6 separate regions of the Homo sapiens genome follow, and all the other regions are linked to region 6. The links are contacts of gene promoters, found by promoter capture Hi-C in blood cells and fetal thymus (Javierre and others, 2016). All regions are on one chromosome and are shown on one strand. Each heading gives the region's core, a stretch centred on a gene start or on the middle of the fragment in contact. The rest is flanking DNA. Distances are from core to core; before and after follow the strand shown.

Evidence for each region. Contacts are between HindIII fragments. The CHiCAGO score rates a contact against its expected background, and 5 or more counts as called.
Region 1: a contact is called between a fragment that was not itself captured here and the fragment with the promoter of CA7 in region 6, in 1 of 17 cell types (endothelial precursors). The highest score is 8.4, in endothelial precursors.
Region 2: a contact is called between the fragment with the promoter of CMTM3 here and the fragment with the promoter of CA7 in region 6, in 17 of 17 cell types (erythroblasts, naive CD8 T cells, M0 macrophages and 14 more). The highest score is 19.8, in erythroblasts.
Region 3: a fragment that was not itself captured here is called in contact with the fragment with the promoter of CA7 in region 6 in 3 of 17 cell types (endothelial precursors, erythroblasts and M1 macrophages); the score reaches 6.6 in endothelial precursors.
Region 4: a fragment that was not itself captured here is called in contact with the fragment with the promoter of CA7 in region 6 in 3 of 17 cell types (erythroblasts, endothelial precursors and M1 macrophages); the score reaches 5.6 in erythroblasts.
Region 5: a contact is called between a fragment that was not itself captured here and the fragment with the promoter of CA7 in region 6, in 6 of 17 cell types (endothelial precursors, erythroblasts, M1 macrophages and 3 more). The highest score is 10.7, in endothelial precursors.

Annotation. Positions count from the first base shown.
Region 1 is chr16:66,625,066-66,628,830 of GRCh38, reverse strand. All of the region lies in intron 2 of CMTM4 (CKLF like MARVEL transmembrane domain containing 4), which reads left to right. Among named protein-coding and RNA genes, the nearest start is that of CMTM3, 22 kb to the right of the region's middle. The HindIII fragment of the contact is 4,903 bases long and covers 1-3,765 here.
Region 2 is chr16:66,602,191-66,606,538 of GRCh38, reverse strand. CMTM3 (CKLF like MARVEL transmembrane domain containing 3) reads right to left here and starts at 1,835. Exons shown (of 5, transcript NM_181553.4): 1 at 1,587-1,835. The coding sequence starts at 1,733. It also overlaps a transcript of CMTM4 not described here. RefSeq lists silencers at 831-1,050, 1,111-1,950. The HindIII fragment of the contact is 16,414 bases long and covers 1-4,348 here.
Region 3 is chr16:66,669,369-66,673,591 of GRCh38, reverse strand. The region is part of intron 1 of CMTM4 (CKLF like MARVEL transmembrane domain containing 4); the gene reads left to right. Among named protein-coding and RNA genes, the nearest start is that of CMTM4, 25 kb to the left of the region's middle. The HindIII fragment of the contact is 5,328 bases long and covers 1-4,223 here.
Region 4 is chr16:66,697,867-66,702,011 of GRCh38, reverse strand. No RefSeq gene overlaps it. Among named protein-coding and RNA genes, the nearest start is that of CMTM4, 3.2 kb to the right of the region's middle. The HindIII fragment of the contact is 4,672 bases long and covers 1-4,145 here.
Region 5 is chr16:66,651,216-66,655,105 of GRCh38, reverse strand. The region is part of intron 1 of CMTM4 (CKLF like MARVEL transmembrane domain containing 4); the gene reads left to right. Among named protein-coding and RNA genes, the nearest start is that of CMTM4, 44 kb to the left of the region's middle. RefSeq lists an enhancer at 3,826-3,890. The HindIII fragment of the contact is 862 bases long and covers 1,848-2,709 here.
Region 6 is chr16:66,842,241-66,846,519 of GRCh38, reverse strand. CA7 (carbonic anhydrase 7) reads right to left here and starts at 2,106. Exons shown (of 7, transcript NM_005182.3): 1 at 1,993-2,106. The coding sequence starts at 2,032. All of the region lies in intron 3 of LOC124903699 (a long non-coding RNA gene), which reads left to right. RefSeq lists an enhancer at 1,677-2,178. The HindIII fragment of the contact is 7,096 bases long and covers 1-2,562 here.

The DNA.
Region 1 (3,765 bases), core at 1,114-3,613, 220 kb after region 6:
ATACAATGGAATATTATTCAGTAATAAAAAGGAATGAGTACTGATACATGCTACAACATGAATAAACCTTAGAACCATTATACTAAGTGGAAGATGTAGGGGAAAAAAAGAGAGATCAGACTGTTACTGTGTCTATGTAGAAAGGGAAGACATAAGAAATTCCATTTTTACCTGTACCTTGAACAATTGCTTTGCTGAGATGCTGTTAATTTGTAACTTTGCCCCAGCCACTTTGCCCCAACCTTGAGCTCACAAAAACATGTGTTGTATGGAATCAAGGTTTAAGGCATCTAGGGCTGTGCAGGACGTGCCTTGTTAACAAAATGTTTACAAGCAGTATGCTTGGTAAAAGTCATCGCCATTCTCTAGTCTCAATAAACCAGGGGCACAACGCACTGCTAAAAGCCACAGGGACCTCTGCCTTGGAAAGCCGGGTATTGTCCAAGGTTTCTCCCCGTGAGATAGTCTGAAATACAGCCTCATGGGATGAAAAAGACCTGACCGTCCCCCAGCCCGACACCCGTAAAGGGTCTGTGCTGAGGAGGATTAGTAAAAGAGGAAGGCCTCTTGCAGTTGAGATAGAGAAAGGCCACTGTCTCCTGCCTGCCCCTGGGAACGGAATGTCTCGGTATAAAACCTGATTGTACATTTGTTCAATTCTGAGATAGGAGAAAAACCGCCCTATGGCGGGAGGCGAGACATGTTGGCAGCAATGTTGCCTTGTTATTCTTTACTCCACTGAGATGTTTGGGCAGAGAGAAACATAAATCTGGCCTACGTGCACATCCAGACATAGTACCTCCCCTTGAACTTAATTATGACATAGATTCCTTTGCTCACATGTTTTTTTTGCTGACCTTCTCCCTATTATCATCCTGTTCTCCTACCGCATTCCTCTTGCTGAGATAATGAAAATAATAATCAATAAAAACAGAGAACTCAGAGACCGGTGCCGGGGCAGGTCCTTGGTATGCTGAGTGCCGGTCTCCTGGGCCCACTGTTGTTTCTCTATGCTTTGTCTCTGTGTCTTACTTCTTTTCTCAGTCTCTCGTCCCACCTGACGAGATATCCCACTGGTGTGGAGGGGCAGGCCACGCCTTCAGAAGAGGCCAGGCACAAAGCACATGTTATGTCATTCTATTTGTATGAAATGTCCAGAATATTTGTGGCAGATTTCACACACAGGAAAAAAAAAATGTCCAGAATAGGCAAATCCATAGAGACAGAAAGCAGATTGGTGGTTGCTTAGGGTTGGGGGAGGAATGAGAAATAACTGCTAATGCGTATGAGGCTTTTTTTGGAGTGCTAAAAATGTTCTAAAATTACATTGTGATTGAATTATATACTTTAATTGGGTATATGTTATGGTATGTGAATTATATCTCAATAAAGCTGTTTAAAAATACGTGATATGACCCAATGAAGGGTAACCACTTAAAATACTTGAGTATAAATCCTTCTAAACTGTTCTCTCTAGACAGTCTTTTGCGTATGCATGTGTGTTGTGATATGTGAGTGCAGAAAAATGGAACCATTAAAATCATGCTTTTTCATTTAAATTATTGTACCTTACATGTTAAATATATAACTACGTGATTATTTTTAATGACTGCATAGTGTTCCATTATGGAAATACCATTTTATTGAACAACTCCCCTATTGAGCACTTTGTTTGCTTCCTTATACTTAGACCTTTTTGCCTTATATCATTTATTTATTTATTTTTTTGAGACAGAGTCTCACGCTGTCCCCCAGGCTGCAGTGCAGAGGCGCAGTCTCCGCTCACTGCAGCCTCGACCTCCTGGGCTCAAACAATCTTCCTACCTCAGCCTTCCAAGTAGCTGGGACTACAGGAACGCACTACCATGCCTGGCTAATTTTTTTGAATTTTTTTGTAGAGACAGGGTTTTGCTGTGTTGCCCAGGCTGGTCTCGAACTCCTGAGCTCAAACAATCCACCCACCTCAGCCTCCCAAGTGTTGGGATTACAGGCAGGAGCCACCATGCCTGGCCCCCAATATGATTTTCTTTTTTTTCCTTTTTTTTCTTTTTTTTTTTCTTTGAGACGGAGTCTCATTCTGTCTCTCAGGCTGGAGTGCAGTGGCGCAATCTGGGCTCACAGCAACCTCTGCCTCCTGGATTCACGCAGTTCTTCTGCCTCAGCCTCCCGAGTAGCTGGGACTACAGGCATGTGCTACTATGCCCAGCTAACTTTGTTTTTTTTTTGAGAGGGAGTCTCACTCTGTCGCCCAGGCTGGAGTGCAGTGGCGAGATCTTGGCTCATTGCAATCTCCGCCCCCTGGCCTCTAGCGATTCTCTTGCCTCAGCCTGCCGAGTAACTGGGACTACATGGTGCATGCCACCGTGCCTGGCTAATTTTTTGTGTTTTAGTAGAGATGGGGTTTCGCCATATTGCCTAGGGGTGGTCTTGAGCTCCTGAGCTCAGGCTGTCCACTCACCTTGGCCTCCCAAAGTGCTGGGATTACAGATGTGAGCCACCACGCCTGGCCACAGCTAATTTTTTAGTAGAGACGGGGTCCAGCTAATTTTTGTATTTTTAGTAGAGACGGGGTTTCACCATATTTGCCAGGCTGGTCTCCATCTCCTGACCTCAGGTGATCCGCCCACCTCGGCCTCCCAAAGTGCTGGGATTATAGGCATGAGCTGCTGTGCCTGGCCTCCCTTTTTCTTTTTATTCTGTTGACTTGTTAGAAAAACTGGGTCATTTATCCTGTAGAGGGTCTTGCAGTTGAGTTGGCTGCATGCACCCTCATGGTAGTGTTTCATATGTCCTTCTTTCCCCATTTTCTCTGTGACCTAGTCATTGATCTCAGGGCAGTGTGGTGCTATAGCAGCTGCTCTGACAATTGAAATGTTTTCTGATCTGCTGTGCCCTTGAGGCAGCCACTTGTCACATGTGGCCACTGAGCACTCGAATTGTGGCTAGTGTGATTGAAGAGTGAAATTTTTTATCTTATATGAATTAGTTTAACTTCAGTCACATATGGCTAGTGTTTGCCCTATTGGACAGCACAGTCCTAGAAGCTCAATTATATTTAGATTCATCTTTTAAGCAAGTGCTTCAGTATTTAAATATGATTCAGTGGGATTTGAGGAGGCAGATATGTTATGCTCTTGTTAGCAGTTGCTGGCGTTTTTTTCCCCTGGTTTAATCTGGTTTCTTAGCCTCAGATCATGTTGAAAGATTATTTTTTATCTTTTTAAAATAGGCTTTTTGACATATTTTTTCCCTGTATTTGCTGTTCCCATTCATCATCTCATTCTTCACTCACTACTGTTAATGATCATTACTAAAGCAAATTTAAAACTACTGATACTCCTACAACTTTAAAATTTTTGACTGTTTTCTTTTTTCTTTTTCTTTTTTTTTTTTTTTGAGACAGAGTTTCGCTCTTGTTGCCTAGGCTGGAGTGCAGCGGCGCAGTCTTGGCTCACTGCAACCTCCGCCTCCCGGGTTCCAGCGATTCTCCTGCCTCAGCCTCCCGAGTAGCTGGGATTACAGGCATGTGCCACCACACCCGGCTAATTTTGTATTTTTAGTAGAGACGGGGTTTTTCCATGTTGGTCAGGCTGGTCTCGAACTCCCAACCTCAGGTGATCCGCCCGCCTCGGCCTCCCAAAGTGCTGGGATTACAGGCATGAGCCACCGTGCCCGGCCTGTTTGTTTTCTAGCCCTTTGCTGCATCTCTGTTTTTATGTAGTCACTGTTAATGTTGATACTGTTTTATTTGATGTTTGACCTCAC
Region 2 (4,348 bases), core at 586-3,085, 240 kb after region 6:
AGACAAATGAACTGCAGGGATCCCAGGGGGTCCCCAGAGCACCCCCATTTGCTCTGCACATGGCCTTGGGTGCAGCTGAGCCCCCTTTGGAAAGATAGACTAAGGCATAGAGACGGGCTGGGAGGCTGCTGGGGCCTCCCAGGAAGGCCTTCCATGGGACTGACCCAGCTCTGGCCCTCCCCTTCCTGTCTCCTATGCCTGCACCCCAAAGCCTAATTCTGGGGATTCCCCTCTCAATTCCTGTTTTTTCATCCCGCGATTTCTGGGGCCACTTCCTCTCTCTGTTTCTGTCCATCTCAGCCTCTGCACTTGCTTGGCCTGGGGGTGGGAGTGAGGGGACTAGGGAGGCAGGAGTGCCCTCAGCGGCTCCTGTGAACCCTGAGTGCTGACCGTTCACCCTTCCTTATCCTCCCTGACCTGGATTCCTGACATCTGCTGGGCCCAGGGTGGCCTCTATGCTCCTGCTGGACATATGCCTCCCTCTTATGAGGTGGTCTTGGGTGGGGATGGGGGGGTTCAAGCCACTCTGGGGACGGTGGATTCGAGGCTTCTCCCCTCAAGTGGCTCCCAGTGGTCTCCAGGGTGGGGCTGGGAGTGTGGGCTCGGAGTGTGGCATTGGTGTCTCACTTGGGCGTTGGGCAGGTGGCCTCTGGGCTGACCGTGGGAGAGGCTGCAGGACCACCTTCTGCCCTCTGCCCTGAGTGACCAGGGAGAGGTCCCGGAGCAGAATCCCCCTTCCTCCTGCCCCCACCCTCCTGGCCGCTCTCACTGGGCCCCTCAGTTGAGCCACCTGTCAAATCAGGCGCCTGAGCGCTCTCATCTGTAAAGTGGGGACAAGGGCAGGAAGCGCCAAGTTCCTGGGATCTAAGCAACAAGTGGCCGCCGCCGTGCGCCGCTCTCTCCTCCCGCCTCCCCCGGTCTCCGGCCCGGCCTCTCCCTCCCCATCCCCAACGGCCCAGCGCCACCCCTACCCCACAGCGGACAGTGCGGGCGCCTCCGGTGTCCAGAGGACAAAGAAGCCCCACCGGCCGGGGTGGGGGCGAGGGCGGAGTAGGAAGGAGCCCGGCCGCGGAGGGGAGGAGGGCGATGAAGTCACCGCGGGGCCGCCTCACCCAGTCCCGGGGGTGGGGGATCCCTCCCGCTCCGCACGGCCCCCCGCCGGCTCGGCCCCGCAGGTCGAGGCCCCGGCCCGCACTACCCGCTCGCAGGAAAGCGGACCCCGCTGCGGCCCGGGAGTCCCGGAGGTCCGAGTTGCCCGAGTCCCCGGGGCCCAGAGAGGGCGGGGGCGCCTGGCTCACACAGCAGGACCCACATCCCCGGGCCCCACCCACTTCCCACGGCCCCCAGCTCTGGACTCGCGGGGACAGCGCCGCGGATGGCCTGGGCTCGGGCCCCGCCCCGCCGTCCAAAGTTTGGGGACCTCGACCCAACTTCGCCAGGCGCCCGAGAGAAGTCGGCCGAGGCGGCGCGGAGAGGGGGTATCGGAGCACGGCGGCCGCCCCCGGACCCCACCCGCGCCCCGACGTCCTCCTCCGAAAGGAGCCGCGCAGTCCTAGCGGGGCGGCCGAGGGTCCCGCCGCACTCACCGACTCGGCCAGCAGGAGGCGGCCTTTGAGAGAGCAGAGGAAAGCCCGCGCCGGCAGCAGGGCGCGGAGCCCGGGGACCGCGGGGCCGGGACGGGAGCCGCCGGCAGGCTCGGGGTCCGGGTCGGGGTCGGGGTCTGGGGGCCACATGGCGGCGGCGGCGGTAGGGCCGGGGCTCGGCCTGGCTCCCCTCTTCTCGCGCCCGGAGGGAAGCGGAAACCCGGGCTGTGCGGAAGGAGGGCAGGCGACACTGGCTCGCGCAGGGGCGCATCCCCCGCCGCCACGCCCCGCCCCGCCCCCACCCGCTCCTCCAGCCCGCCCCTCCCCCTCGGACCCCGGCTGCGGGGGATGCTGGGCCCGACCCGCCCCCTCCCCGGCCTGGGGCCTCCGCAGACTCCACCTTCTTCTTCACCCTGGTTCGGGCCGCTGGAGACCTCCCGATCACCGCCCCGGCACCCCTTCGGAGCTCCCACCCGTCTGCCCCTATCCAGAAGGGCTGTCTATACTCGCTGTCTCCGGTCTAACTTCCTGCCCGTGCGCGTGTCTGGGATCCGGGAACCCAGGCGTCTAAACAGCAAAGACCCCGGCCGTGATGTCGGCTCCGCAACCCATGCCCTCTCTTTTTCTTGGGGGCCGGAGTTTTCTTGCGACTTTCTTGGCCACCCCTCCTGTCCCCGGCCAGCCCCACCCTCCTCCAGGGCCTCTTTGTTGGCTGTTCCAGGCCTCGGTCCTGCACCCGCCTCCCCCAACCCATTCTCAGAGGACTCTCAGACCTGCAAGCGCAGCTCCAGGCACACACACAGACACACACACACGCGCGCGCGCGCGCAAACACACACAGGCACGCACATCTGCAGGACTTCCTGACCTGCAGTCCCCCCACCCCAACACATCTCTCTCTCTCACACACACACACACACACACTCCACACGCACATGCGTGCACATCTAGAGAGCGTCTGGAGTTCAGCGTGATCAAGACCCAGCTTCCTGTGCCTCTGCGAAGGGCACTGCCCCCTCCTTTCCTTCCACCTGACTAGCGGAGACCTGCGGGTTGTCCTTGTCCCTCTTCACCGGCAGTCTGTAACCAAGGTCCTCCCACTTTCACCTCCTATAACTTTCTCTGATCTCTGTCTACTTCTCACCACCACTAGATCCGAAACCATTCCTGCCTGCTCCCCGCTGAACTGCTGTGATGGTGTCTTTAAGAGGCCCTTAGGTTTTCTCTCTGGGCAGCCGGGGGAGAGCTTATGGCACAGTACTGCGCACCCTTGACATAACTAACTCCATCTTAGAAAAAGACTTCATTTTATATTTCATAGGGTGCTTTGCCAACAAGGGCAAGATGTTTTGTTTAATAAAAAATAGAAGGTCAGGCGCTGTGGCTCATGCCTGTAATCCCAGCACGTTGGGAGGCTGAGGTGGGTGGATCACGAGGTCAGGAGTTCGAGACCAGCCTGGCCAATATAGTGAAACCCCGTGTCTACTAAAAATACAAAAATTAGCTGGGCGTGGTGGCACCGTGCCTATAATCTCAGCTACTCAGGAGGCTGAGGCACAAGAATCGCTTGAACCCGGGAGGCATAGGTTGCAGTGAGCCAAAATCACACCACTGCACCCCAGCCTGGGCGACAGAGCAAGACTCTGTCTCAAAAAATAAAAAAAAAAATAAATAAAGACTGCGTCCAACCACATAAGGACACAAAGAAGCACACTGTTCCTCTACCATTTCTCACCAGAGCACTCTGTGACTACAAAACAGCAGCCCAGCAGCCTTAACTGACAACCATCCCACTGCCGTTCATAAGAACTCTGCATCTGCCTCCCAAGGCTCTGCCCCTCAAAGACTCTGCAAGACCCTCAAGCCCAGACCAGGATTCCTTTTGTCTTCTTCCTTACCCTGGAACTGGTTCCTTAACCCTTTCTCCTATCTCTTTTTCTCTTGATGTTAAATGCTACTTTGTTTGTTGTGGAATGTTTATAACATTTACATGTGGATTAAGTATACTATTATATATGGTTTGCAATATTGACTGACTTGTGGAGTGGCTTGAGCCCATGTGCTCACTACTGAGTGAACGGGAAGTACTAAGGAAAATTGGCTCCTTGGGTCTGGGTGCAGTGGCCCATGCCTATAATTCCAGCATTTTGGGAGGCTGAGGCAGGCAGATCACCTGAGGTCAGGAGTTCGAGACCAGCTTGGCCAACATGGCGAAAACCCATCTCCACTAAAAATACAAAAATTAGCTGGGCGTGGTGGCACAGGCCTGTAACCCCAGCTACTTGGGAGGGTGAGGCATGAGAATCACTTGAACCCAGAAGGCAGAGGTTGCAGTGAGCTGAGATCGCACCACTGCACTCCAGCTGCACTCCAGCCTGGGCGGCAGAGTGAGACTCTGTATGAAAGAAAAAAGAAGAAGAAGAAGAAGAAGCAAATTGGCTCCTTGGGATAGCTTGTGGCTTTTGTTTTTTTTTACCCTTGGGTATAGGGTGAATAAAAATCTGACACTGTGGAAAGACACAAACACGTGTGGACCTAGTTATCTCTTTTTTCTTTCTTGAGACAGAGGCTTGCTCTGTCACCCAGGCTGGAGTGCAGTGGCATGATCTTGGCTCACTGCAACCTCCACCTCCCAGATTCAAGGGATTCTCATGCCTCAGTCTCCCAAGTAGCTGGGATTACAGGCCTGTGCCACCACACCCAGCTAATTTTTGTATTTTTAGTAGAGACAGGGTTTTGCCATGTTGGCCAGGCTGGTCTTGAAC
Region 3 (4,223 bases), core at 990-3,489, 170 kb after region 6:
TAAGTAGCTGCACAAAAGTACAGTACAACATTGTGAATCTGCAGTGTGCACACTGAGGCATTTTCTGTAAATAATAGTATAACGTGGGCCGGGTGCAGTGGCTTATGTCTAATTCCAGGACTTTGGGAGGCTGAGGTGGGTGGATCCCTTGCATCCAGGAGTTCGAGACCAGCCTGGGCAGCACAGGGAGACCCTGTCTCTACAAAAAATAAAAAAATTAGCTGAGCATGGTGGTGTGAGCCTGTAGTCCCAGCTACTTGGGAGGCTGAGGTGGGAGGATTGCTTGAGCTTAGGAGGTTGAGGCTGCAGTGAGCTCTGATTGTGCCACTGCACTCCAGCCTGGATGACAGAGTGAGACTCTGTCTCAAAAAAAAAAAAAAAGACTGGGTGTGGTGGCTCACATCTGTGATCCCAGCACTTTGGGAGGCTGAGGTGGGAGGATCACTTTAGACCAGCCTGGCCAACATGTGAAACTCCGTCCCTACTAAAAAATACAAAAAAAAAAAAAAAAAAAAAAAAATTGGTGTGGTGGCGCGTGCCTGTAATCCCAGCTTCTTGGGAGGCGGGGGCAGGAGAATCACTTGAACCTGGGAGGCTGAGGTTGTGGTGAGCCGAGATTGCACCACTGTGATGGGAGCAAGACTCCGTCTCAAAAAAAAAAAAAAAAGCCAGGCGCAGTGGCTTACACCTATGATCCCAGCACTTTGGGAGGCTGAGGTGGGAGGATCACTTGAGGTCAGGAGTTCAAGACTAGCCTGGCCGACATATGAAACTCCGTCTCTACTAAAAATACAAAAAAAAAACAAAACAAAAAACTAGCTGGGTGTGGTGGCACGTGCCTGTAATCCCAGCTTCTTGGGAGGCTGAGGCAGGAGAATCGCTTGAACCGGGGAGGCTGAGGTTGTAGTGAGCCGAGATCGCACCACTGCAATCAGAGACTCCATCTCAAAAAAAACAAAAGTGTAACTCAAAAGTGACCCTTAAGAATCAGAGGAATAATAAAAGATTGTTTAGTGGAGTTGCAGGTATTACATTTTCTGAGATATGTTACTAACTTATATATTACATAGGTTATATTATCAGCCTATATATAATAATATATACATATTATATATATATAAGTTGTTGCAAAAGTAATTACGGTTCTGGTCATTAGGTTTTTTTTTTTTTTTTGAGACGTAGTCTTGCTGTGTCTCCTCCCATCTGTCTCCCAGGCTGGAGTGCAGTGGCTCAATCTCGGCTTATTGCAACCTCCGTCTCCTGGGTTCAAGTGATTCTCCTGCTTCAGCCTACTGAGAAGCTGGGATTACAGGCGCACACTGCCACACCCAGCTAATTTTTTTTTTTTGTATTTTTAGTAGAGACAGTGTTTCACCATGTTGGCCAGGCTGGTCTCAAGTTATCCACCTGCCTCGGCCTCCCAAAGTGCTGGGATTTCAGGCATGAGGCACTGTGCCCGGCCTGGTCATTACTTTTAATGACAAAAACTACAATTACTTTTGCACCAACATATGTGTTATAAATATATCCTGATAGATTATATATACGTGTGTGTGTGTGTATTTTGAGACACGGTCTAACTGTGTTGCCCAGGCTGGAGTGCAGTCATGATCATGGCTCACCACATCCTCGACCTGCCGGGTCCAAGTGATCCTCTGTAAGTCTCCTGAGTAGCTGGGACCACAGGTGTGTGCCACCACACCACTCCTGGCTAATTTTTTTTTTTAAATATTTTTTTGTAGAGACCGGGTCTCCCTGTGTTACCCAGGCTGGAGATTATATATTTGAAATATTCATTACTGGTCTGTCTGTCCTCTCATCATGTTGCTAATTTCACTGAATGCCAGAGGGCATCTGATGGTCTATTTGGGTAGAGTTTTCCCAGCTAGGCCAAGTTATAGGTGCCTGGCCAGCCTGTGGGTTGGTGCCCCTGGGTCAGGTGCCCACTCCTCTTGTGTGCTAAGGATTCTGAGCATGACAAGCTGTGTAAGCAACAGTCTGGAGTCACTTTCCTTGGAGGTTCAGGGGAGAGGAGGAGAAGATAAGGGATGAGAATGGAATGGTTAGTTCTAGAAGGGATCAGTGAGCCCGCTGATGTTTTCCTATGAAACCATTGTTGTTCTCTCCATCACAAGTCTTTGCTGAGTGCTACCCTTTCCTTCACACCTCTTCCAAATTTTCTGTCTCCCCTGGGCCCACTCCCGTCTTTGTTTCCATCTCAGGAGGCCTTCGGCCTCTTCACCATCACTTACAGGTCTCCTTCCATCCAGCCACCCGTGCCGCTTGCCTGATTCCTTCCCCTCTATTTGGAGACTCCCGAAGTTAGCCCTTCTCTTTGAGAAGGCTTCCCTGTTTCTATTCTTCATTCTCCAGCCGCACATCTGGTGAAGTGTCTTTTGGGAATCTGGTACTGTATGAGGCTTACAAAGCTGCTTTACGTCAAGGAGCTTACAGTCAAGTCATACATAAATTTGTCTGTAATATAAATATCAGTTTTTTTATCTTGAATATTTTCCAAAATGGCAAAAACTTACTCTCTGATTACAAAAAAATTTGTGTCCCTTGTTTTAAAAAGTCAGACTGATGTAGAAAAATAGAGAAAAAAGTAAAAATACTGGTGTTCTCCTCAGCTAGAGAGGACTCCCATTAACAGTTAGGTCTACATTGTTTTGGACTTTGTTCCCATGCGCATACTTGTAAAAATGGGTTATTACACATACCACAGTTTGCTTCAGGGTATGATGCAGAGTGGTTTTTGAAATTACAGATTTACATTATTACTTTTTTTTTTTTTATATGGAGTCTTGCTCTGTTGCCAGGCTGGAGCGCAGTGGCCCGATCTTGGCTCACTGCAACCTCCACCTCCTGGGTTCAGGCGATTTTCCTGCCTCAGCCTCCTGAATAGCTGGGACTACAGGTTCGTGCCACCACGCCCAGCTAATTTTTGTATTTTTAGTAAAGACGGGGTTTCACCATGTTGGCCAGGATGGTCTCAGTCTCTTGACCTCGTGATCCGCCTACCTCGGCCTCCCAAAGTGCTGGGATTACAGGCGTGAGCCATCGTGCCTGGCTACATTATTACTTTTAAGAACTTTTTATGGAAGTGCAATATACGTATAGAGAAGTGCACGATTTTTTTTTTTTTTTTTTTTGAGACAGAGTCTTGCTCTGTCGCCCAGGTTGGATCTTGGCTCGCTGCAGCCTCTGCCTCCCAGGTTCCAGTGATTCTTCTGCCTCAGCCTCCTGGGTAGCTGGGATTACAGGTGCATGCCACCAAGCCTGGCTAATTTTTGTATTTTTTTTTTTTGGTAGAGACGGGGTTTCACCATGTTGGCCAGGCTGGTCCCAAACTCTTAACCTCAGGTGATCTGCCCGCCTTGGCATCCCAGAGTGCTGGGATTACAGGCGTGAGCCATCGTGCCCGGCCGAAGTGCACAAATTTTAAATACACAACTAAGATCTGAACATGATGCTTTGTTATGCTTTAGCCTCTCTCTGGTTGGCTCCATGTAGTAGACTCTCTCTTGCTTTTGTTTTGGCTGCCATTTTGAAAATTGCTTTGTTTCCTTCTTTACATTATTTTTGTTTCATGATTAAGTGGCAAAATTGAAGGCTTTATTCTCTACTTTGAATCTAAAACAAATAGTTAAGGCTGATTTAGAATTCGTCATATAGGTTTGAATTAAACAAATCTAATAAAGGAGTGTGCACCATTTTCTTTCTGAGAGCATTAAAAAATCCAGCAAATGGCTGGGCACAGTGGCTCACGCCTGTAATCCCAGCACTTTGGGAGGCCGAGGTGGGTGGATCACAAGGTCAGGAGATCGAGACCATCCTGGCTAACACAGTGAAACCCCATCTCTACTAAAAATACAAAAAAAAATTAGCCAGGCATGGTAGCGAGTGTCTGTAGTCCCAGCTACTTGGGAGGCTGAGGCAGGAGAATGGCGTGAACCTGGGAGGCAGAGCTTGCAGTGAACTGAGATTGCTCCACTGCACTCCAGCCTGGGTGACAGAGTGAGACTGTCTCAAAAAAAAAATCCAGCAAATGTTTGAGCTATAGAGGTTTGGGCACATGCCAAGGATGTTGGTGGTCTTCACATGCTCTTTTTTTTTTTTTTTTTAATTAACATGTAGTAAATTGACTTTTTTTGGTGTACAGTACTATGAGTTTTAGCATGCACATATATTCGTGTAGCCACTACCATAATGAGGATACTGAA
Region 4 (4,145 bases), core at 1,037-3,536, 140 kb after region 6:
ATGCTTGGCTAATTTTTGTATTTTTAGTAGAGATGGGTTTTCACCATGTTGGCCAGGCTGGTCTCGAACTCCTGTTTCATGGGGTAATGGAGGACACTTGGCTTGTGCTTACTTTTTGGCTACTGTGGACAGTGCTGCTACAAACCTTCATGAAGAAGGTTTTTTTGTGTTTCTTTTTATATAAGGGCATAAAAATAAGGTTTCGTTTGTTTGTTTGTTTAGATGGTGTCTTGCTGTGTTACCAGGCTGGAGTTTGTAGTTACTCATAGGTGCAATCATAGCAAACTACAGCCTTGAATTCCTGGGCTCAAGTGTTCTTCCTGCCTCAGGCTTCTGAGTAGCTAGGACTACAGGCCTGTATCATGGAGTCTGGCATGTCTCATACAAGTTTTTGTTTCAGCACCTATTATCAATTTTTTTCTTTCTTTTATTTTCTTTTTTTCTTTTTTCTGTTTTTGAGAAAGGGTATCACTCTGTCACCCAGGTTGGAGTGCGGTGGTACAATCTCAGCTCACTGCAACCTTCCTCTCCCAGGTTCAAGCAATCCTCCCACCTGAGCCTCCCAAGCAGCTGGAACTACAGGCATGTGTCACCACACCCAGCTAGTTTTTTGTATTTTTTGTAGAGATGGGGTCTTGCCATATTGCCCAGGCTGGTCTTGAATTCCTGGACTTAAGCAATCTACCTGCCTTGGCCGCCCAAAGTGCTGGGATAACAGGCATGAGCCACTGTGCCTGGCCACCCATTATCAGTTCTTTTGGGTATATACGCAGGAGTGGAATTACTGGGTCATATAGTAATTCTATGTAACTGTTTGAAGAACTGCCAAACTTTCAACCCAGCAGTTACACCATTTACATTCTTACCATCAATGTATGAGGGTTCCAGTTTCTCCACATCCTCACCAACACTTGTAATTTCCTGTTGTTCTTATTATAGCTATCCTGGCAGTTATGAAGTGGTTTTGATTTGCATTTCCCTAATTTCCTTCAACTAATAACATTGAGCATATTTTCATGTGCTTGTCTAAGAGGTTTTTTTTTTTCTCTGAATATTCCTTTTTGGTAACATCTTATTCTAAACTTTTTTTTTTTTTTTTTTTTTAATAGAGATGGGGTCTTGCTATGTTGCTCAGGCTGGTCTCGAACTCCTGGGCTCAAGCCATCTGCCCACCTCAGCCTCCCAAAACGCTGGGATTACAGGCGTGAGCCACCTCACTCAGCCTTATTCTAAACTTTTTTTTTTTTTTTTTTGAGACAGAGTCTTGCTCTGTCACTCAGGCTGGAGTGCAGTGGCACAATCTTGGCTCACTGCCACCTCTGCCTCCCGGGCTTAAGCGATTCTCCTGCCTCAGCCTCCTGAGTAGCTGGGACTACAGACATGCACCACCACTCTGGGCTAATTTTTGTTTTTTTAGTACAGATGGAGTTTCACCATGTTGGCCAGGCTGGTCTCGAACTCCTGACTGTAAATGATCCACCCACCTCGGCTTCCCAAAGTGCTGGGATTACAGGCATGTGCCACCATGCCCAGCCTTATTCTAAACTTTTTATGGTTACAGTATCTTCTCAGTTTACCTGAGAATACTGATATATACATGTGTATAAAATGGTATATATATGAACACACATATATATACCATTGTAAACATTTAATGACATATCTTTTTCTTCGTTTTGACCTCTGTTATGTTATAGGCTTTCCTCAAATGTTTGGTGACTCTTAGTTGTCATTTATATTTCAAAGTAGAGTCCTCAAAAGCTCATTGGAAGCTCTGTGCCTGTAGGTGAGAAGTCTCAACTGTGGGATTCTGTGTTGGGTGATCTGGCTGGGCTCCACTTTGGGGTACTTCCATTGTCAGGATCTTTGGGTCTTTCTTCTTGTGCTAATCATGTTTTCCAGAGAGAATGTGAGGTCTTGGCTACCATGATCTCGGGAAGGATGTCTGGGGGTCTCATTCATTAAGCAAACTTTCACTTACTCCACCTGTTTTTAGTACAGTATTCCTTCCCTGAACTGTGCCTAGTGATCTCTAACTAAGAGGCCTTCTGTTTCACCCTCTCCAGAGAACAAAGCTCCAGTCTTGGGGGATGGGTGTGAAAAGGGATCTAGGGATCCACTTGCTTCTTTAAAAGACTTTCACTTGCTCTTCTTGTTTATTACTCCTGCCTTCACCCCCTAACTCTACACTTACTTGGTGCTGCCCATTCCTGAGCCTTTTGTTCTGTGATATAACCTGTGCTGCATAATATTTCAGCCTTTCCCCTGCCAGTTTAGGGTTTGGCTTTCTTGGATCTGCTAAGTTACAGTTGCCCATTTGCTTCCCAGCTTCCAACATTTTGTTGCCATTGTCTCCTTTCCCATTCCATTTTTTTTTTTTTTGGTAGCCCAGGCTGGAGTACAGTGGGGTGATCTCAGCTCACTGCAACCTCCACCTCCCAGGTTCAAGTGATTCTCCTGCCTCAGCCTCCCGAGTAGCTGGGATTACAGGCGCTCGCCACCATGTATGGCTAATTTTTTTTTTTTTTTTTTTTTTTTTATTTTTAGTAGAGACAAGGTTTCAACATGTTGGCCAGGCTGGTTTTGAACTCTTGACCTCAAGTGAACTGCCACCTCAGCCTCCCAAAGTGCTAGGATTACAGGCATGCACCATGGTGCCCTGCCTCCTTTGCCATTCTTTATCCCAACAGTTTAATGCCCAACCCCACCCCCTCAAAAAAATCCCTGTAACTGTCATTTCACTGGGATTTTGGGAGAAAGCAGAGGCAAGAGTCTACATCCAACCACTCAATGTCACCACCGTCTAGCACCATTGTCTATCTCAAGTTCTTAGTATATTGCTTAATCCATAGTAAGTGCCCAATAAATATTTGTTGATTTAGGGTCAGTCCTCTATATCTGTGGTTTCTGCAGCTATGGATTCAACCAACTGCTGATAAAAAAAAATTTGGAATAAAATAGGCTGGGCACAGTGGCTTATGCCTGTAATCACAGCACTTTGGGAGGCCAAGGTGGGCAGATCACTCGAGGTCAGGAATTCAAGACCAGCCTGGCCAACATGGCAAAACCCCGTCTCTACTAAAATCACAAAAATTAGCCAGGCGTGTTAGTCGGTACCTGTAATCCCAGCTACACAGGAGGCTGAAGCATGAATAATTGCTTGAACCTGGGAGGTGGAGGTTGTAGTGCGCAGCAATCATGCCACTGGGTGACAGAATGAGACTCCGTCTCAAAAAAAAAAATTATTTGGAAAAAACAATAAAAAATAAGCTGGATGTGGTGGCTCATGCCTGTAATCCCAGCACTTTGGGAGGCTGAAGTGGGAGGACTGCTGAGACCAGAAGTTTGAGACCAGCCTGGGCAACATAATGAGACCCCATCTCCAAAAAAAAAGAAAGAAAAAACAATTTAGCCAGGCATGGTGGTGGCATGCCTGTAGTCCCAGTTACTTAGAAGGCTGAGACAGGAGGATTGCTTAAGTCTAGGGGGTCGAGGTTACAGTGAGCTATGATTGTACCACTGTACTCCAGCCTGGATGACAGAGTGAAAAGTCTATTTTAAAAACAAACAAAACAAAACAAAACAGAAAAACAGGTGGGGCACGGTGGCTCACATCTGTAATCCCAGCCCTTTGGGAGGCTGAGGTGGGTAGATCACTTGAGGCCAGTAGTTTGAGATCTGCCTGGCCAACATGGTGAAACCCTGTCTCTACTAAAAATGCCAAAATTAGCTGGGCGTGGTGGTCCCAGCTGCTCGGGAGGCTGAGGTGGGAGAATCGCTTGAGGTGGAGGTTGCTGTAAGCAGAGATCTCACCACAGCGCTCCAGCCTGGGTGATGAGCAAGACTCTGTCTCAGAAAACACACACACAAAAAACCCCCAAACAACACACACACGCACACACAAAAATATAGATAAAAAGTAATACAGTAGAACAATTATTTAAAGTATACGAGAAGATGTGTGTAGGTTATATGTAAATACTACACCATTTTATATAAAGGATTTGAGAGCATCTTCAGATTTTGGTATTTGAGGGGGTCCTGAAAACAAGCTCCCTCTCTTGCCCCCATACAGAAGGACAACAGTATTAGAGTCACTGTCCTTCCTATCTTTGAAAAAGTTGAGGGCTGGGCATGGTCAGTCA
Region 5 (3,890 bases), core at 1,029-3,528, 190 kb after region 6:
AGGCTGAGGTGGGAGGTTGGCTTGAGCCTGGGTGGCGGAGGTTGTAGTGAGCACAACACTCTAGCCTGGGTGACAGAGTGAGACTCTGTCTCAAAAAAGCCCCCCGAAACCCAAAAAACAAAAAGGAAATTCGGGTACATTCTACATGTTCACATTTCTTTACTGGACTGGAGCTTGGTGAAGACAGGAAATATATCTGAGGGCTCTGTTGGCCCTTTCACATAGTAAGGACAGTGGCTGCCATTTAGCTGAATACTCACTCTTGGGCATGGTGCAAAGTATTTTACATTTAATCCTCACAGCAATCCTTTAGCATCAGAATTGCCCCTTAATTCATTTTACAGTTGAATAAATAAAAGAAAACCCATTTTACAATTTATAAAGAGAGGCTCAGAGAAGAGAAGTAAATGTGCCCAGGGTCACAGTGGCAGAGCTGGGATCACGGGCCAGGGCCGTGAGCCTCCAGAGCCCCACTCCTTAACTACTGTGCGACGGGCTATGCTAACGGCAAGAGGATTTTTGCACTCACATTTGTGGGTGCCTGGTGATATTACGTAGAGGTGCCCAGTTTGTGGGGGAACAGTTATGGCCTGGGTCTGGGGCTTAGAAAGACATTCAGACTAGAAGGGTGAATTTGGGAGTGTGAGTCTGGAGGAGGGAGTCTGTTGGTAAGCATGTGTTTCATGAGAAGGCAGCAGAGGCGAGGCCCTGGAGAGCACCTGCCATGTGACAGGAGGCAGGATGGCAAGGGGGAGCAGTGGAAGTCCAGTGCAGGTGGAGGGTGATCACTAGTGCCTAGTGCTGTAGAGGGTTCTGGGGTCCAGATTTGAACCCCAACTCTGCTGTTAACAAGACTTATCTTGGCTGGTTTGCTTAACAACTTTGCTTCACTTTGCTTGTCAATAGGATGGGGATTAAAAACCATGTTCTTCCTGGGGTGATGAAAATGTTTTGTAATTGTGTAATAGTGATGGTTGCACAACTTTGAATATACTAAAAGTCACTGAATTGTGTATTTTAGAGAGTGAATTTTATGGTGTGTGAATTATATCTTAATTAAAAACTGGCTGGGTGCAGTGGCTCACACCTTTAATCCCAGCACTTTCAGAGGCCGAGGCAGGTGGATCACTTGAGGCCAGGAGTTTGAGACCGGCCTGGCCAACATAGCAAAACCCTGTCTCTACTAAAAAAAAACACATAAAAATTAGCCAGGCATGATGGCACACGCTTCTAATCCCAGCTACTCGGGTGGCTGAGGCAGGGAGAATTGCTTGAACCCGGTAGGCAGAGGTTGCAGTGAGCCGAGATTGCTCACTACACTGCAGCCTGGGCAACAGAGCAAGACTCTGTCTTAAAAACAAACAAACAAAACCCAACCAACCATGTTTCTATCAGGATGGAATGAATTTTAAATTAAAGGCTAGAATGCTTATAGAAGTGCCCAGCATTGTATTTGACTCATAGTAGAAGGGCTCAGCAAATATAGACTTTTTAAGGAAGGCCACAGTGTCACACATTCTAGGTTCCACTGTTCTCACTGTCTCTGGAGCTGGGGACACCATTATAACCACCATGCTGAACAGTAGTCCCTGACCTATGGGGTAAGGATGGCGGCCCTGGGGGTCATAGGTTTGGGCCTGTACTGCTAACCCTTAGCTCACTGCATCTCCCTCTCCCAGAGACTGGTTCCAAGACCTCTCTCTCTGGATGGTGTAGAGGTCCTGGGGGGTTGCCAGGGTAGTGGGTCTCACGACTGAGCTGGGTTTTCCCAATGGACTTCCATCTGGCCTCTTATGTATGATATGCAGTTCACTATTTTGGCTGAAATCAATCTTTAGCAAAAAGCTTCTCCCAGCCTGCTCGTTTCTCATTCAATGAGAAATGCTGTGTCCTTACTCTCAGTTAAGGTGGTTGGCCAGAGTTGTTAGGTTGGGGAAGTACCCAGGAAGTAAAGCAGGAAGAGGAAGGAAAGGGGGAGGTTTTGCTTTTGTATTCTGGGGATGCGACACTGCTTTCTGGGATTTCAGCTTCATCTATGAAGCTAGGACCATGAGAAAGTAAAGGGGAAAAGAAGATCCTAATGGCAGCAGTGTAGTTAAACAGCTTCAGATGTTTATGCTTTAAGGGCAGCTTGTTTCCTCTGTCCTCTACATGTGCTTTGTTTTTGCTCCATTACTAATTTAAACGGTCTGAAAATTTGACTTTTTGAGCAGGGTAGCATTCGCAATAAGATTCTGTGGGCAATCTCTTGGCAAGAAAGATGCTGACCGTCCTGTGGTTTTCTGAAATCATGTGCAGTTATATCATCAAACCACATAATAAGGATTTCTGGATTTTCTTTTAAAAATAAGAAAATGTTTCGCACTTTATTGGATAACCCTGTTTGTGTGCTCTAAGTAGTTAGATACCAAAAAATAAACCTATTTTAATTGGAGCCTGTGATACAGTATCCAGCCGTTGTTGATGGGTAACCTGTGGATTTAATGTATGCGTTAGAGCATGCTTCTAAGTATGAAAATTTACGTTGAAGGTGAGAATCTTGCCAAAAAATTGAATTGAATGCAATGTCCAAAGTTCAACTCTTATTTATGGCTTTAGAATTCCAAAATATCAAAATTGTTTACACAGAGAACCCGCTTGAAACATCTGTCAGGGACACTGATTGAATAGGCCTTAGTGACACAGGCCACACCCAGACCCAACCAAGCTTTCTGGGGCATCAACAACCCAATGCTTCTGTCCTCAGTGGAAAACGGTGCCTTCAGGGGTCTGCGGTAAGCACCACTTAGAGTGGAGTGTGGCCTCGGAGGCTGGCGGGCTTTCTTTGAGAGTGCACACCTTGCTGCCGTCTGCTGCACCCCAGCCTTGCCTGCGCTTTGTTTTCTTTCACCATCCTGAGTCCTTGGAAGCCTCTCCCTTTGACCCCATTTCTCCTTTTCTTGTCAACAATGAGGAACTTACTTGCCTCCACCTCTTGGCTCCTTTGCTCAACTAATCACTGTTGACTAATTAGTCCTGCTGGCCAGCCCAGGTGGCTTTAGCTCCTGAGGGCCATCTCTGCCCTTCCAGAGCAGGTAATTTTCTATTACTTCTTTGCTACCCTCAGGTCCTAGCTTGGGCACTGCTAGAGAAAAGCAATGAAACCAAAGATCACATGCAAACACCTTGGTTGCAGATTGAATAATTTACACTTGCAATTAGCTCCTTTGTTTCAGAACCAAACATTATTTGCTCATTGCTCGATTGTCTTAAGGGAGAGGAGGGTGATATTTTAAGTTTATCATCCTCATGGGATGGCCTCCCTTGGGAGGGGAAAAAACTCATGGATTATTTTTCTTAGAAAAATTAAGATATTACTACAGCTAGATCCCTTTGAGAATGAGCAGTCATGTTGTGGGCTTTGTCAGAGTCTCAGCACTGGCTACCCCAGGTCTTGTATTGCTTTCCTTGAAGAGAAATCATACATGGTGATTTTTCCCATGGTGAAAGGGGTGGGAAGACTCTGGATAAGTCATATGTTAGGCATCTTATCTAGGAGAATGAGGTAGGGGAGGAACTAGCTTTGGGACCTGGCCACACGATGGAGGTGCTGCCTGCTTCCTGAGTCGGGGTGTGAGGATCAGAGATGTTTGGACTGTGCCTGGTGCAGAGCCCTGTAGCTTCCTTACCTTATTGATGCTCCCTAAATGGAAGCCGTTGTTATTCGGAGGTGCCTGGCATTGCAGAACTATTTGCCCCCGTTTGCAGACCATATAAATGGCTTCTGGCCTGGGAACTTATGTTTTAAGGTGATCTGTTGTTTAGCGTGTGTATAAAGAGTGGCTTAAAACTCCCCATCTCAACACCGTGAAAGATGGTGCGGAGAGGCTTCGTGCCTCTTCTGTAGTTCC
Region 6 (4,279 bases), core at 857-3,356:
GAGGGAACTGAGGGCCACTCACACATGTGTGCATGCATATGTACTAATATAAATACAGCATGTGCATGCACTGCCCCCAGCTGCCCTCCCAATGTGTGTGCCTGCAAGTCCATAGAGATCTTCCTATGAACACATTAATCTTTCTATGATCTTCCATTGTGCACACAGAGCAGCCAGGCCCAGAACATTCATGTGTACAAACACACACACAGCCCTGCAGACTACATCTGACACACGCATATGCTCTCTCACACACAAACCCCTCTGTTGGAGACCCAAGTTTGCATAAAGGACCACAGCAAAACACATGCCCATGCACACACACACACACACACACACACACACCTGCATACACACCCACAGGCGCCCACCACCTGCCTCCCAGAGGATCCATCTGCAGCCGAGAGGCTCAGCATCTCCCTGGGGAACATCCTGAGATGCAGCCTATTTTTAGAGCTACTGCCGGCTGGTGCTTCTCCCCCTTTTTGGCTTCTTAAGTTTTCCTGAGAAAACAGCAGCAGGTGCCGACAGAGCCGTGTCCCCAATGGATGACTCAGAATCGTGGCCCGGCCCCTCTGGGTTATTTTTGAAGCCCTGTGAACACTGCTGCATGCCGGCACCTCTGTCCTCTGTCCTTCCCTTCCTCGACTGGACAATCCAGCTCTGCCTGGGTGATGGGGTGGCTGCTTTGGGGGAGCAGGCCCATGGAGCAGGCTACACAGGACACTGGGTGCTCAGAGCTGGTGGGCATGACTAGCAAGAAGAGCTGGAGGCAGGGGACTCTGGCTCTGGGGGAAGCACCCAAAAGGTGGCTCAGAGCAGGTGCTGGGAGAAGATGATCCCTATGGGTCCTGTCCATCTGCCCCATGTCTGCCTGTCTCTCCCTCTCTGCTTGTCTATATCATCTTTTTCTGAATGTCTCTTTCCAGCTCTTGCATACCCAGATCTGGGGGTTCTCTTCCAAAATATGCTCCTTTGTTCTTGGGGCCCCAGAGGGAGCCAAAGACTCCACAGCACCCTCCCTCTGGTCTACTGCAACTTTCTGGCTTCCCAGACTGTGGTCCCCCACCCAACCTCACAAAGTGACTGCCTCTCCGCAGAGGAGTGGGGCTGGGGGATGTTCCTCCCATCATTACTTTTTCTTCTCCGCACCCCACCTGTCTTGCACTGGCTCCCCAGGGAAATAGGGAACCCCTTACCCCACACCCCCACCCCTGCTTGGTAAGAAATGGCCCCAAAGGGAATTGACTGCCCCAGACCCACACTCCAGCCGTCTGGCTCTCACCTTCTGCCTCTTCTCCCTTTCTCTGAGTCCTAAGGAAACTGAGGCAGGATGAAGGAGCTCTCTTCCGCGTCAGCCCAGGAGGCTGGTGTGGGCCACGGGCTCCCACGACTCACACCCGGACGTGCGCAAACACCCTGCTCGGTGTAGACACCCAGACACATGCTTGCGCCCCCAAGTGCCCCCTTCCCTCACGTACCGGCCGAGAAGGCAGCTCGGCCACTTCTGCGGGGAAATTCTCTCCGGGGGACACTGCGCCCTTGCCACGCGGAGCCCCGCTCCCCCGAGGTCCCCGCTCACTTGCCGTGCGCGCTCCCCGCAGACACCCGCGCACAGCGCTCCGCGGCGCCCGCCCCCCGCTGCCCTGGGCCACCCCCACGCGCTGCGCACGCCCGGGGCGAGTGAGTGAGAGTCTGGGCCTGGGTCTGAGCGGGCTGGGCAATCAGGGGCTTCGCGGAGGAGGCGGCAGGACACAGCCGCCAGGTCGCTTGCTGGCGGCGGGGCCACCCGGGGCGCAGCGCGGACTTTGCGTCTGGCGCGGGGGACCAAGGCTTGGGCCAAGTTCGGGGGCCGGGATGGGAAGAGGGGTCCCGCCCAGCCTGGAGTGTGGGAGCTTTCCGGTCTGGGAAACCAGCTGGGCAAGAGGGTTGGGGCGAGTGCAGTTGGGTCGGGGGTCCGAGCCAGAGGCGGTGGGGGAGGTCTGTGCCTACCGTCGTCCTGGCCGTAGCCCCAGCCGTGGTGGCCGGTCATGCCGCTGCCGTCCCCGCAGCCGTGCACCTGCCCGGTCGGCTCGGTCCGCTCGTTCGGGCTGCGGCTCCGGCCCCGCTCGCTACCGCGGAGCAGCCTCTTAAAGCAGCGGCTGGCGGGAGGAGCAGTTCCCGGGGGACCCGCCCCCCACCCCCCAGCAGGGCCAGAGAGGCCGGCCTGCCCCGCCCTCGCCCGCCGGCGAGCCAGTTGAACCCCGAGCGGAGATTCAGGGCAGGAGGAAGTAACCCTCTCCCCCCAACTCCCACCCCTGCCCTGGCTGGGCGACTATCCCTCTTTTTCCCCCAGCAACCCGTGCGGACTCTGGGACACTAGATGCCCGTGCCGCACATGGCGTCCCTTCCCTAGGCTTGCCCCAGACCTGCAAATGCCACCACCAGAGACCTGAGCTCTGGGTCCTGAATCTTTTGGGGTTGGAAAGTCCCCTTTAAACTGCAAACTACACTGACCATCAAGTGTCCAAAACTGGAGCTTCCACTGTTTGCCAGAGGCTGTTGCAGGCGCTGGACCAAGCTTTGGGTCCTTCCTATGGTATAACCCTCTCTGTTACCCTACAAGGTTGGGTGCTTCCATCAGCCCTATCTGACAGAGGAGGGGAGTGAGGCCCAGAGAAGTGAAGTGACTTGCCCAAGGTCATCTAGCCAGGGGGTAAAGGGTTCATTAGCTGGGGTTCTTACTCCAGACACTGGGGGTTTTGTGGGATTTGTTTGTTTGTTTGTTTGTTTGCTTGTTTGTTTTTAGACAGAGTCTTGCTCTGTCACCCAGGCTGGTGCTATATCAGCTCACTGCAACCTCCACCTCCTTGATTCAAGTGATTCTTCTGCTTCAGCCTTCCAAGTAGCTGGGATTACAGGTGTGTGCCACCACATCCAGCTAATTTTTGTGTTTTTTGTAGAGATGGGGGTTTCACCATGTTGCCTGGGCTGGTCTTGAACTTCTGGCCTCAAGTAATCCACCCGCCTTGGCCTCCCAAAGTGTTGGGATTAGAGGAGTGAGCCACCACTCCTGGCCTGACACTGGGGTCTTTACCATTTCTCCTTGGTGCTGGGTACAAGGGTGTGCTGTGAGTGTGGGGGTCCGGGAACCCTGGGGTAGATGCAGGGACAGGAATGGCAATGTGAACCCTTGGCCCAGGTGGAACCAGATCCCCCAAGGGGGAGTGAGAAGGAGTGGCATCAACCAATGGGCCTGAAGACAGGCAGACACCAGGTGGCTTCCCCATGGAGCTAAGTCTGAGGCTCTGACTTCCACCCTCCCTGTTATTTTGTCTACTGCTTCCTCCTTTCTTCAGGGACTCTGCTTTGTCCCTCCATAGCCTGCTGTTTGTCCCTCCTCTCCTGACCTCCCCATAACCTTCAGTACACCCCCTGGGAGCTCAGACCCTCCACCCTGCACTCAACCCCAGTGCCTGCCTTGGCCCAGTATTTTCCCACCCACGAGCCCTGGTCGTTGTTGTGCCCTCCACCTGGTGCGTCCTCTGTCTTCCACCCACTGGCTCCAGCCGGCCCAATCTGATTCATCTTAGCACGTGGCCTTGTGCCAGGGAGAGGGCTTGTCTCTGGCTAGTCCTCAGCAGGCAGTTTTGGAAAGACAAACAGAGGGGTGGATGGAAGGACAGATAAATGATCCCACCCGGGGTCCTGTACTCAGCAGGAGTCGAACAGCCACTAGTACAATGTCTGCTGTCCAGATCTTGAATAGAGACACTCTTTCAGGCCCTGCTCTTGGCTGACCTTGTACAGGAATCTGCCATCTTGTCTGCCTGGCTCCCCTTCATCTCTGTGTCTGTCTCAGTTTCCCTCTCCCAGGCCCTGAACCCCAGATCCTCAGATAGAGCTATGGAGATTAATTGATAACTGGTTGGGTGGGCCAATGTCAGTGACTGCCCAGGCCTGCGAAGATGGCCCTCTCTGATCCAGGAGCAGGAAGGGATCCTTAATATAAATATGACCCTAGGGTGGGGCAGGGGACTTATGACAGAGATAAGTAGCCCCCAAGACCAGATGTGACAGAGAATCCAACACTGTCAAGGCCCCAGGTCTCCAAGCTGGAAATGGCATCTACAGATCAAGAAGACAAAGGCATGCTTCTGGGTGAGGCCTGGACCTTCTGTCTCCCAGAGAAGCCAGCCACCCTTTACCTGGGAGAGCTGCCAACATCCTTTACCTGGGAGAGAGCTCTGGGGATAGCCCAAACTCCATTGACCCATTTCCTCTTCAGAGGGACTCAGGT